Regions from separate parts of the Homo sapiens genome. Here region 1 is linked to region 2. Evidence: promoter capture Hi-C in human tissues and cell types (Jung and others, 2019). All regions are on one chromosome and are shown on one strand. Each heading gives the region's core, a stretch centred on a gene start or on the middle of the fragment in contact. The rest is flanking DNA. Distances are from core to core; before and after follow the strand shown. Region 1 overlaps CASC3 (CASC3 exon junction complex subunit). Region 2 holds the start of GSDMB (gasdermin B).

Region 1 (6,012 bases), core at 2,396-4,895, 250 kb after region 2:
TGTACCAAGTGTTTTTCAACACCTAAAGGAAGGTAGGACTTGATATGAGAGCCCTCTAGAATTCTTATTGTTTAGGCCTCTTTCTTTGTCTCAGGGTGTCCAGGGTGGTCGAGCCAAACGCTATTCATCCCAGCGGCAAAGACCTGTGCCAGAGCCCCCCGCCCCTCCAGTGCATATCAGTATCATGGAGGGACATTACTATGATCCACGTGAGTTTTTTCTTACTGTTGGGGTACTTTTCTTGGCAGGGTGAAGTGAAGTAAGATACCAGGCTCCTGGCTCCTGAATTTCTCTTCTGACCTCTTATAGTGGTTATCAAACATTGTCTGGTTGCTGTTTTCTTCGCATGGAATATTGAGAACATCTTTTAAAGGGCTTGGGGAACAAGGAGACTTGTCCATGTGAAGAGTAAGGGTTTATGAGAGTCCCAATGTGATATCTTACAGTGCAGTTCCAGGGACCAATCTATACCCATGGTGACAGCCCTGCCCCGCTGCCTCCACAGGGCATGCTTGTGCAGCCAGGAATGAACCTTCCCCACCCAGGTAAGCTTTGTGTCTCTGCTTATATGCTTCCAGTACCTGAGGATATATGTTGGGAGTGCCACAAAACCCATCCTCCTGAGCTTTGTGCTGCTAGCCTGGGAGTCTGGCCATCCTGGCTGCTTGGGCAACAAGTTCCTCTTGTGTCCATCCTGAGGACTTCCATTCTGAGCCTGATTATACTGAGCAGTCCAGCCGGGCCATCCTGTGAAAATGATGTTACTTTATTTTTCAGTTTTTTTCTTCTCCTTATCCAGGTTTACATCCCCACCAGACACCAGCTCCTCTGCCCAATCCAGGCCTCTATCCCCCACCAGTGTCCATGTCTCCAGGACAGCCACCACCTCAGCAGTTGCTTGCTCCTACTTACTTTTCTGCTCCAGGCGTCATGAACTTTGGTAATCCCAGTTACCCTTATGCTCCAGGGGCACTGCCTCCCCCACCACCGCCTCATCTGTATCCTAATACACAGGTGAGATGGCTAATGATCATGTTTTTCTAGATACACATTCTTTAATTCAGACAGGAATGTGGTATGGGGAGAATGCTAAAGGAATTTGAGAGAACATTTTCAGTGCCACTGATTTGTATGTGACACCAAGACGCCTCTTAGTGGTCAGGAGCTGGAAATGCAGCTTATGTAATGCCCATCATCTTTATTCTTTTCAGTTTTTTTCTCCGTTGCCCAGGCTTGGAGTGCAGTGGCGTGATCTCGGTTCACTGTAACCTCCACCTCTTGGGTTCAAGCGATTCTTCTGCCTCAGCCTCCCGAGTAGCTGGGATTACAGTGCCTGCCACCATGCCCGGCTAGTTTTTGTATTTCTAGTAGAGATGGCGTTTCACCATGTTGGCCAAGCTGGTCTCAAACTCCTGACCTCAACCGATCCACCTGCCTCGGCCTCCGAAAGTGCTGGGATTACAGGCATAAGCCACCGCACCCAGCGTTCAGTTTCTTTAATGGTGTTTCTTTCCTGTGTTGTGGTACATCATAGGTGGCAATACCTGGTTTTTACTCTATTGCATAAAGAAGCTGTATTCTACTCCTTATCACCCCTACCTCTGTCCTGCTTAACTTCCACCACGTTGACATAATCAAGTATCTGTAGTGTCGCTACTGAACTCAGCCTTTTCCATTTGTCAGCTGATGGTAGGAATTAGAGAAAGCTGGGCAGTACTTTGAAGAAATAAAAACCAGAGCATAATAATGAAGAATTAAGGCAAAAATGAATAGTCACTTTATTTTGAAGGGTGGGCAGATTAGATATTTTTAAAATTATAAATTCCCCAATTCTCTTATGGCTGAATAATATTTCCTGTTCATCATAGGTTGGATGAATTCATTCCTAACTTTTTCTTCTCCTGGCTTGTGGGGTCCCAGGCCCCATCACAGGTATATGGAGGAGTGACCTACTATAACCCCGCCCAGCAGCAGGTGCAGCCAAAGCCCTCCCCACCCCGGAGGACTCCCCAGCCAGTCACCATCAAGCCCCCTCCACCTGAGGTATGAGAGTTCCTTCCTATACTTAATGCACATGCTCCGTCAGTGGGCTTTCCTTCTCCCCAGAGGATTTCCCTCATTTTCTGGGTGTGTTTCTCTGGAAAACAGTCTTTTTGTTATGACCTGATAACAAATTCCAACTTTGTTATTTCAGGTTGTAAGCAGGGGTTCCAGTTAATACAAGTTTCTGAATATTTTAAATCTTAACATCATATAAAAGTAAGTGCACAACTTACTGTGAATATTGTTAAAACTAATGCTCACACTTGCTTAATAAACAAAAATCACTTAATTAATGCTTTTTTTTTTTTTTTTTTTTTTTTTTTTTTTGAGACGGCGTCTCAGTCTGTTATCCAGGCTGGAGTGCAGTGGTGCAATCTCGGCTCACTGCAACCTCCATCTCCTGAGTTCAAGCGATTCTCTTGCCTCAGCCTCCTAAGTAGCTAGGATTACAGGCACGCACCACCACACCTGGCTAATTTTTGTATTTTTAGTGGGAATGGGGTTTCACCATATTGGCCAGGCTGGTCTTGAACTCCTGACCTCAGGTGATCCACCTGCCTTGGCCTCCCAAAGTGTTGGGATTACAGGTGTGAGCCACCCCACCCAGCCTCTGATTAATGCTTTAAGTTATAATAATCATGGGATATCTCAGGAGGCTTAAAGGAGTCCTGAAATTTGCCAGTTTGTTTGTTTGGCAAGTGTATTGGGCAGGGTTGAAGTAGAAACGATTGTTAACATGACAGTTTTCAATTGGGAAGCTACAAGGAAAAAATACAGGAAGGCAGTCAAGGAAAAGGGAAATCTAAATTTGAGATGTTATAGCAGAAAAAACCAGTTCTAAAGATCATAGAGGAGAAGGACTGGGGGTTTTGTTGCTTTTGTTTAAGGACATTACTTAAAACACATTATTTAGAAGTGTGGCTTTTTGAAAACAGCTTGTGAATGCCCAGAAGGCCCACTAACACTTTGGTGGTTCTTCCCTTTTTCCAACCCCTGTCAGAGCAGCAGAGGTGAGAACTCAGAAGAGAAATACAGCTGGCTATCTACTACCAGAAGGGCTTCAAAGATATAGGGTGTGGCTCCTACCAGCAAACAGCTGAAAGAGGAGGACCCCTGCCTTCCTCTGAGGACAGGCTCTAGAGAGAGGGAGAAACAAGTGGACCTCGTCCCATCTTCACTCTTCACTTGAGTTGGCTGTGTTCGGGGGAGCAGAGAGAGCCAGACAGCCCCAAGCTTCTGAGTCTAGATACAGAAGCCCATGTCTTCTGCTGTTCTTCACTTCTGGGAAATTGAAGTGTCTTCTGTTCCCAAGGAAGCTCCTTCCTGTTTGTTTTGTTTTCTAAGATGTTCATTTTTAAAGCCTGGCTTCTTATCCTTAATATTATTTTAATTTTTTCTCTTTGTTTCTGTTTCTTGCTCTCTCTCCCTGCCTTTAAATGAAACAAGTCTAGTCTTCTGGTTTTCTAGCCCCTCTGGATTCCCTTTTGACTCTTCCGTGCATCCCAGATAATGGAGAATGTATCAGCCAGCCTTCCCCACCAAGTCTAAAAAGACCTGGCCTTTCACTTTTAGTTGGCATTTGTTATCCTCTTGTATACTTGTATTCCCTTAACTCTAACCCTGTGGAAGCATGGCTGTCTGCACAGAGGGTCCCATTGTGCAGAAAAGCTCAGAGTAGGTGGGTAGGAGCCCTTCTCTTTGACTTAGGTTTTTAGGAGTCTGAGCATCCATCAATACCTGTACTATGATGGGCTTCTGTTCTCTGCTGAGGGCCAATACCCTACTGTGGGGAGAGATGGCACACCAGATGCTTTTGTGAGAAAGGGATGGTGGAGTGAGAGCCTTTGCCTTTAGGGGTGTGTATTCACATAGTCCTCAGGGCTCAGTCTTTTGAGGTAAGTGGAATTAGAGGGCCTTGCTTCTCTTCTTTCCATTCTTCTTGCTACACCCCTTTTCCAGTTGCTGTGGACCAATGCATCTCTTTAAAGGCAAATATTATCCAGCAAGCAGTCTACCCTGTCCTTTGCAATTGCTCTTCTCCACGTCTTTCCTGCTACAAGTGTTTTAGATGTTACTACCTTATTTTCCCCGAATTCTATTTTTGTCCTTGCAGACAGAATATAAAAACTCCTGGGCTTAAGGCCTAAGGAAGCCAGTCACCTTCTGGGCAAGGGCTCCTATCTTTCCTCCCTATCCATGGCACTAAACCACTTCTCTGCTGCCTCTGTGGAAGAGATTCCTATTACTGCAGTACATACGTCTGCCAGGGGTAACCTGGCCACTGTCCCTGTCCTTCTACAGAACCTGAGGGCAAAGATGGTGGCTGTGTCTCTCCCCGGTAATGTCACTGTTTTTATTCCTTCCATCTAGCAGCTGGCCTAATCACTCTGAGTCACAGGTGTGGGATGGAGAGTGGGGAGAGGCACTTAATCTGTAACCCCCAAGGAGGAAATAACTAAGAGATTCTTCTAGGGGTAGCTGGTGGTTGTGCCTTTTGTAGGCTGTTCCCTTTGCCTTAAACCTGAAGATGTCTCCTCAAGCCTGTGGGCAGCATGCCCAGATTCCCAGACCTTAAGACACTGTGAGAGTTGTCTCTGTTGGTCCACTGTGTTTAGTTGCAAGGATTTTTCCATGTGTGGTGGTGTTTTTTGTTACTGTTTTAAAGGGTGCCCATTTGTGATCAGCATTGTGACTTGGAGATAATAAAATTTAGACTATAAACTTGGCTCCCTTGCCAGTGTTTTGCATGAGTCTTGATTTGGGAGGGAGGGAAGAGGACTCCCTAATTCCCCCACAGGGTCACGGTCACAACTCAGGTCAGCCCAAGTTGTGAAACAGAAGCCCAGAGAGATGAGGAGCCCCTATGAGGCCATAAATGTGTCTGCACTCCCCATCAGTTATCTTTTTTAACCACATAGATCACCAGGATGTCATGCCATCCCTTAGATTGGAAGTGTCAGGGACAGAAAAGTAGTGAGATGCTGGTTATTCACATGAGCATCTAGTATCCTTTATGGCTTCCTTTGTGTTTGGCAAGTAAGTTTCCCAAGGTAATATGCCATCAGATGTCAATATAACTATACCAAGTCCTGGGTTGGGGGGAAGTACAGGTAGCTAGCTTTCTTGAAAAGTGAAGATGCTGCTGGCCACCGTGGCTCACGCCTGTAATCCCAGCACTTAGGGAGGCCGAGGTGGGCAGATCTCGATCAGGGAGATCGAGACCATCCTGGCTAAACAGGGTGAAACACTGCCTCTACTAAAAATACAAAAATAGCTGGGAGTGGTGGCGGGTGCCTGTAGTCCCAGCTACTTGGGAGGCTGAGGCAGGAGAATGATGGGAACCCGGGAGGTGGAGCTTGCAGTGAGCCGAGATTGCGCCACTGCATTCCAGCCTGGGCGACAGAGTGAGACTCCGTCTCAAAAAAAAAAAAAAAAAAAAGGAAAAGTAAAGATGCTGACACTAAAGTATTCAGGACCACACAGTCTTAGAGAGACTATCAGCTCAGGTAAGGGGAAGGGAATTTGTGTGTGTGTGTGTGTGTGTGTGTGTGTGTATTTTTAGTAGAAATTTTTGTATTTTTTGTACAACAAATTTTGTATTTTTAGTAGCAATGGGGTTTCACCATGTTGGCCAGGCTGGTCTTGAACTCCTGACCTTAGGTGACCCACCTGCCTTGGCCTCCCAAGGCCAAGTCTGAGTCTGTGTTCTTAATGTCCTTGCCAGTGGCTCTCCACCCTACCAGATCCAAAGTCACTTTTTTTTTTTTTTCTGAGACGGTCTTGCCCGTCACCCAGGCTGGAATGCAGTAGCACAATCATAGGTTGCTGTAACTTGGAACTCCAAGGTTCAAGCAATCTTGCCACAGCTTCCCAAATAGCTGTGACTACAGGCCCACACCACCATGCCCAGCTAATTTTTGTGGTTTGTTTTTAGTAGAGACGAGGTCTCAGTGTGTTACCCAGGCTAGT
Region 2 (6,381 bases), core at 3,868-6,367:
CAGGAGAATCGCTTGAACCTGGGAGGCAGAAGCAAAGACTGCAGTGAGCCAAGATCAAGCCACTGCACTCCAGCCTGGGCGACAGCGAGACTCCATCTCCAATAAAAGCAGTTCTGTCGCTGTTGTTTGTATGAACCACACAAGTATGAAGTGAGGCAACCCTGGAAAGTCACAAACACGCATGGACTCGGCCCTGATTGATCAGGCACTAATAAGGGCCTTGGTTCTGAGTCAGTTGCCACCCCAGGTTCGTGGAGGATGTGTGGGCATGCCGAAGGGGCTGCGTGCCTTTGTCTCCAACCTCCCAGATGGGAACCTACAGGGGAGGGAGAGCTCCCACTGCTAGGTTTTGGAGGCAGGGCTGGATTTCCAAAGACAAATCCATTTTGGAACTGGTGGAAATGTGACAGAATTAGAAACAGTGACTGAAATCACTATTTGTGTGTACATGAGACACTAATGTCTTAGGGACCATTTGCTTCTTGAGCAGTGTAAAAGAAAAGAAAAATATCAGAGAGAAAAAGAAAAATAAAAACTATGTGCACAAAGAGTACTATATGAAGAAGAGGAAAAAGAGTAACTTCTGGTAGAGAAACCTGACAAACATTACCTCAGCCAAGTGATCAAGGTCAACATCAACAGTGATAGGTCATGTTGACAGTACGTACCCCTGATGTGATGTAATAGGAATGGTCCTTTACCTCTGTGGTCTTCCTCCCCGAGACCCAGAACCCAGTCTAACCATGAGAAAAAACATCAGCCAAATTCCAACAGAGGGACGTTCTACAGTATCCCTGACCAGTACTGCTCAAAACTGCTAAGATTATCCCAAACAGGTAAAGTCTGAGAAACTGTCACAGCCAAGAGGAGCCTAAGGAGACATGACAACGAAATGTAATGTAGGATCCTGGATGGGATTCTGGAATAGAAAAAGGACACTAGGTCAAAACTAAGATAACATGGGCTGGGTGCAGCGGCTCACACCTGTAATCCCAGCACTTTGGGAGGCCAAGGCGGGCGGATCACCTGAGGTCAGGAGTTCAAGACCAGCCTGGCCAACATGGTGAAACCTTGTCTCTACTAAAAATACAAAAAATTTGCCAGGTGTGGTGGCAGGCACCTATAATCCCAGCTACTCGGGAGGCTGAGGCAGGAGAACCACTTGAACCTAGAGGTGAAGGTTGCAGTGAGCCGAGATCGCGCCACTGCTCTCCAGCCTGGGCAATAGAGCGACACTCCATCTCAAAAAAAAAAAAAAAAAAGTTAATGTGAATAAAGTATGGACTTTAATAACAAACACAAAATCCTATGCACACTTTTTTTTTTGTTTTTTTTTGAGACGGAGTCTTGCTTTGTCGCCAGGCTGGAGTGCAGTGGTATAATCATGGCTCACTGTGCAACCTCCACCTCCCAGGTTCAAGCAATTCTCCTGCCTCAGCCTCCCGAGTAGCTGGGATTACAGGCATGCGACACCACGCCCAGCTAATTTTTGTATTTTTAGTAAAGACAGGGTTTTGCCATGTTGGCCAGGCTGGTCTCGAACTCCTGGCCTCAAGTGATCCGCCCGCCTCAGCCTCCCAAAGTGCTGGGATTACAGGCATGCGCCATCATGCCCAGCTAATTTTTGTATTTTTAGTAGAGACAGGGTTTCGCCATGTTGGCCAGGCCAGACTTGAACTCCTGACCTCAAGTGATCCACCCGCCTCAGTCTCCCAAAGTGCTGGGATTACAGGCGCGAGCCACTGTGCCCAGCCCTATGCACACTTTAACTGCACCATCAGCATTATACAGTTACAAAATAACCCATTTAAATAGGGAGCAGACCAAGCTAAAAATCAATTCAAATTACCAATTCCCATCATTGTAAGGATTTTCTTTTTAAGTTTGGTTTCACCTCTGCCTCCGAATTTTGTATGCACACAGATGAGCTTTTCCTTAAAGGAAGTTGACTGACTTAGTCAATTTTTTTTTCCCAGACTTAAACTTTGCCCTGTCCCTGGGGAGTAATATTATTGTGGCAAAACATCCTAGTTCTGGGTTAAAGTATTTTTCCATTTTCAGTGAATTGATCATTTGGCAAACTGATTTTTTTTTTTTTTTTTGAGAGCTGACTTTTAGCAAATTGGCTCTTAGCAATTTACTTTTCAGAGAATTGACTCAGTCTTTGAAAGATGCGAATCTGAAATTTCTCCAAAAGCCCCTTGCTTGCTTAACGAAACTCTGCTTGTGGAAAGGTCCACCACCTCCAAGTAATCTGGGTACTGCTCTTGGTCACTTAAAGCAGTTCCTGGCACACTGTAATACTCTAAAGCTGCTCAGGGCTGTTAGAGCTCTTTTCCGTCTCTTGGCATGAGACCTCATAAAAAGAAATGGACTGTATCAGAGAGGTCTGAGCTATGAGCGCCTTGCTATTGTTCATATTATGAAATATTTTTTCACATTATGAAATATAATGAACTCCTCACCATATTCCACTTTGGGCTCCAAGTGAGAGTTCAACACTTAACCCTGGGGCTTCTGAAACCCAAGTACCCCAGGAATAACTGAGATCAGAGGCAGGGGGTTGGAATAATTGACTCTTCCATAAATTCCCTCAATACCTTAGGGATTTCTGCTCATCAGAAACTTCCCCTTCAGTCTTGATAGCCAAGGAACATGAAAGGATAATAAGAATCACCACCGACCTGGGAGATAACTTTTATTGGGTGCTCCTTTTGTGGCAGGCACTGTGATAAATGATTCACGTAATTTGTTCTCATTTGATTTTTTTTTTTTTTTTTTTTGAGACAGAGGCTTGCTTTGTCTCCCAGGCTGGAGTGCAGTGGCGTGATCTCAGCTCACGGCAACCTGCACCTCCCGGGTTCAAGCAATTCTCTTGCCTCAGCCTCCTGAGTAGCCAGGACTACAGGCGCATGCCACCACGCCTGGCTAATTTTTTGTATTTTTTTTTTTTAAGCAGAGACGGGGTTTCACTGTGTTAGCCAGGATGGTCTCGATCTCCTGACCTCGTGATCCGCCCACCTCGGCCTCCCAAAGTGCTGGGATTACAGGAGTGAGCCACCGCACCCATCCCTCACTTGATTCTTACAACAGTCCTCTAGAGTTGACACAGGAGGAAACTGAAACTTAGAGCAATAAAACAACTTGTCCAAAGGTTACGCAGCTGATAAGAGGCAGAGCCAGGCTTTGAAACCAGGTGCTTCCAGCCCTAAAGCCTGCATCCTTTCTTAACCAGTAAGCAAACTGCCCTCATTTACTTATTCATTTAAATGATAAACACATGAGAAGAGCTCGCTAAATTAAAAGCAGATTATTTTACAAGGGAAAAAATGGAAAAGGAAGACCATTTAGGAACGGTTTCCAGTGGAAATAAATCTCCACTTCTCCCACTCTCCTCCCACCATGCAGCTCTTCCGTGCATTTCTTAAATTAAGGTGTGTGGATGTGTACAAATCCCACAGTTTCGTTGTTGATTGGTTGATAACAATGGGGAATTGAGAAGGAGATGGAGTACAAACGGTCAAGGCCTCCTGGCTGGCCACCTGTCATCTACCTTATACTGACCTTGGAGCCCAGAATCCAGTTCATCTAACCACTTGTCCCCATCTGTGTCCAGAATGTCCATCAGGGTGAGGCCTGTTGTGTAGTGCCGGCATCCAAAGAAAGTTCTCTTCTCCCCCACCAGATGGAAGCAGCGGAATCTATCAGCATCAACAAGGCTTCTAACGGCAATCATATCCCCTCCAGCATCCATCTCCTTAACTACAATTCTTGTGATTTCCTCAAATACGCTGAACATTGCGCCTGGACCAACTCAGAAACAGAAGCCAATTTCAGTTTTTGGGAGGAGGGTATTGGTTCAAGTATTTAAATCTTCCACATTTGGCAGCCTGAGGTGTCAGGCCTCTGAACCCAAGCTAAGCCATCATATTCCCTGTGACCTGCATGTATACATCCAGATGGCCTGAAGCAACTGAAGATCCACAAAAGAAATGAAAATAGCCTTAACTGATGACATTCCACCATTGTGATTTGTTCCTGCCCCACCCTGATACAATATAGTCTCCCCGCCGCCGCCCTTAAGAAGGTACTTTGTAATATTCTCCCCTGCCCTTAAGAAGGTACTTTGTAATATTTCTCCACCCTTGAGAATGTACTTTGTAAGCCTATCCCAAACATATAAGAACTAATGATAATGCCACCACCCTTTGCTGACCCCTTTTTTGGACTCAGCTTGCCTGCACCCAGCCTTGTTGCTCATATAAAGCCCGTTTCGTGGACTCTCTTCACATGGACGCACGTGACATGAGGTCAAGGAAGAGCCAAAGGTTCCAGGACAATCAGTACCTGGAATGATTTGCCTGCCTTACTTCTAGAACGTGAGGCAGCCATGACTCAGTAAAGAGGGCTAAACATCACAGATCCCAGATTCTCCTCTGCCCCTCATGGTACCCATCTGGAGGAAAAAAGTAGCAGCTATTGCCCCAAATAGAGAAAGTGAGACCCATTTTCTACATCTCCCACAGCAGAGTTGCCCCCTTGTTCCAAGGGGCCCAAGGGATGGAAAGGCAGGCCCACCATGCCCCAGCCAGACTAGCCCCAACGTTGATGAACAGAGGAACCAGGGAGGAATGACGGGCACGGTTGCCAGACTTCACATTACTAACCTCAACTGGTCGTTTCTTCCCTTGGCTCTGATTCTTGGGCTCCCTGCCTTGCTGTATTCTGCAAGGCAATTGGATGGGTGCCTCCCTACCAACAATTTCCCAATGAGGTGGTGGTAAATTGGCCTCAGAAGAAACAAAAGCTTCCTGGGATCCACTTCCCCATCCTACCTTTGGCCACCTTCCCCTATATCCCTTCTGCCCAGCACAGGCACTTATCCACTCACTGCTTCCTCCTCTGTCTCTGGCCCCATCATGGTGGTTGACTCTCAGTTCACTACCAACCTGGGAATTCTAGGTGTCTGGAAAGACAGTACCCGGGAACCACAGGCCCATCTCAAGTGGTACCCACCTCCTCTCTGACCTCAGCTGTTCACCAGAAATGGAAGTTGTGAGAATCCCCACAGATCTCTGCACAGTTCCTGGCCTCTGAATCTCAGGAAGCTAAAATAATGAAACTGAAAGTTGTCCAGGTGTGGAACTTCCTGGACGGGTGGGTAGGGCTGGGTGCCCCACCTCCCAAGCCTTTAGATAAGCCACCTTATAACTGAGCTGGAGGCAGATTAAGGCCAGAACCCCCCTTTTTTTTTTTTTTTTGAGACGGAGTCTTGCTCTATCGCCGAGGCTGGAGTGCAATGGCGCAATCTCGGCTCACTGCAAGCTCCGCCTCCCAAGTTCACGCCATTCTCCTGCCTCAGCCTCCCGAGTAGCTGGGACTACAGGTGCCTGCCACCACGCCCAGCTAATTTTTTTGTGTGTGTTTTTTAGTAGAGACGGGGTTTCACCGTGTTAGCCAGGATGGTCTCAATCTCCTGACCTTGTGACCCACCCACCTCGGCCTCTCAAAGTGCTGGGATTACAGGTGTGAGCCACCATGCCCGGCCAGAACCCCTTCTTCTTCTTGTACCTAAGGAGTGGGTAGGAGATCCTGGTATGTATTCTAGGTGAGTGTGGGCCAGACAATGGTGCACACCGTGGCGCCCTGGGCCATGCAATCCAGTGTGTTTGGAATAGAGAAATGGAATATGAGTAGGTATCAAGTGCCAGCAGGCAATGGCTGTGTCTGTGCCAGGGACATGAGGACCATAACCCAGCAGAACCAGCTGCCCAAATGCCATGCGACGGTCAACACTGAAGACCCAGGACAACAGCAGCTAACACCTGGAGGCAACAGGGTGGGCCTGTAAGGAGCACTCAGCCTCCCTCCCCATCTCGTGCTCCCGTGTACACTCTCAAGGAGATGCTGGTCTTCCTTATCTGGATGCCATCTGGCTTCTCCACCTACCTCCTTCTCCAGGGAGAGGCCTCTGACCTCACCCATGTCCTCTCTCAGAGATAACCACCCCGGTGAGCCCAGCCTGTCTTCCAGCCTCTGCATGCCTCAGTTCTGAAAGAACATTTGAAGGGATGACAGGCCAGGCGTGGTGGTTCATGCCTGTAATCCCAACACTTTCAGAGGCCGAAGCAGGCAGATCACTTGAGGCCAGGAGTTCAAGACCAGCCTGGCCAACATGGCGAAACCCCGTCTCTACCAAAAAAAAAAAAAAAAAAAAAATTAGCCAGATGTTTTGGCACACACCTGTAATCCCAGCTACTCAGGAGGCTGAGGCATGAGAATTGCTTGAACCTGGGAGGCGGAGGTTGCAGTGAGCCAAGATGGTGCCACTGCACTCCAGCCTGGGCAACAGAGCAAGACTCAGTCTCAAAAAAATAAATA

Evidence for each region. The method cuts DNA at HindIII sites, captures the fragments that hold promoters and counts their contacts. A contact is called where the count stands out against the background at its distance.
Region 1: a contact is called between a fragment that was not itself captured here and the fragment with the promoter of GSDMB in region 2, in 1 of the 25 tissues and cell types used here (bladder).

What each region holds. Positions count from the first base shown.
Region 1 is chr17:40,167,404-40,173,415 of GRCh38, forward strand. It overlaps CASC3 (CASC3 exon junction complex subunit), which reads left to right. Exons shown (of 14, transcript NM_007359.5): 9 at 95-209; 10 at 447-545; 11 at 800-1,014; 12 at 1,921-2,043; 13 at 2,195-2,259; 14 at 3,044-4,768. The coding sequence ends at 2,218. Among named protein-coding and RNA genes, the nearest start is that of RAPGEFL1, 7.1 kb to the right of the region's middle. RefSeq lists an enhancer at 661-1,220. The HindIII fragment of the contact is 3,465 bases long and covers 1,914-5,378 here.
Region 2 is chr17:39,913,518-39,919,898 of GRCh38, forward strand. GSDMB (gasdermin B) reads right to left here and starts at 5,118. Exons shown (of 11, transcript NM_001165958.2): 1 at 5,017-5,118; 2 at 3,565-3,813. The coding sequence starts at 3,799. RefSeq lists an enhancer at 2,677-3,166, promoters at 3,718-4,347, 3,898-4,306, 5,030-5,392 and a cis regulatory region at 5,371-5,384. The HindIII fragment of the contact is 12,682 bases long and covers 1-6,381 here.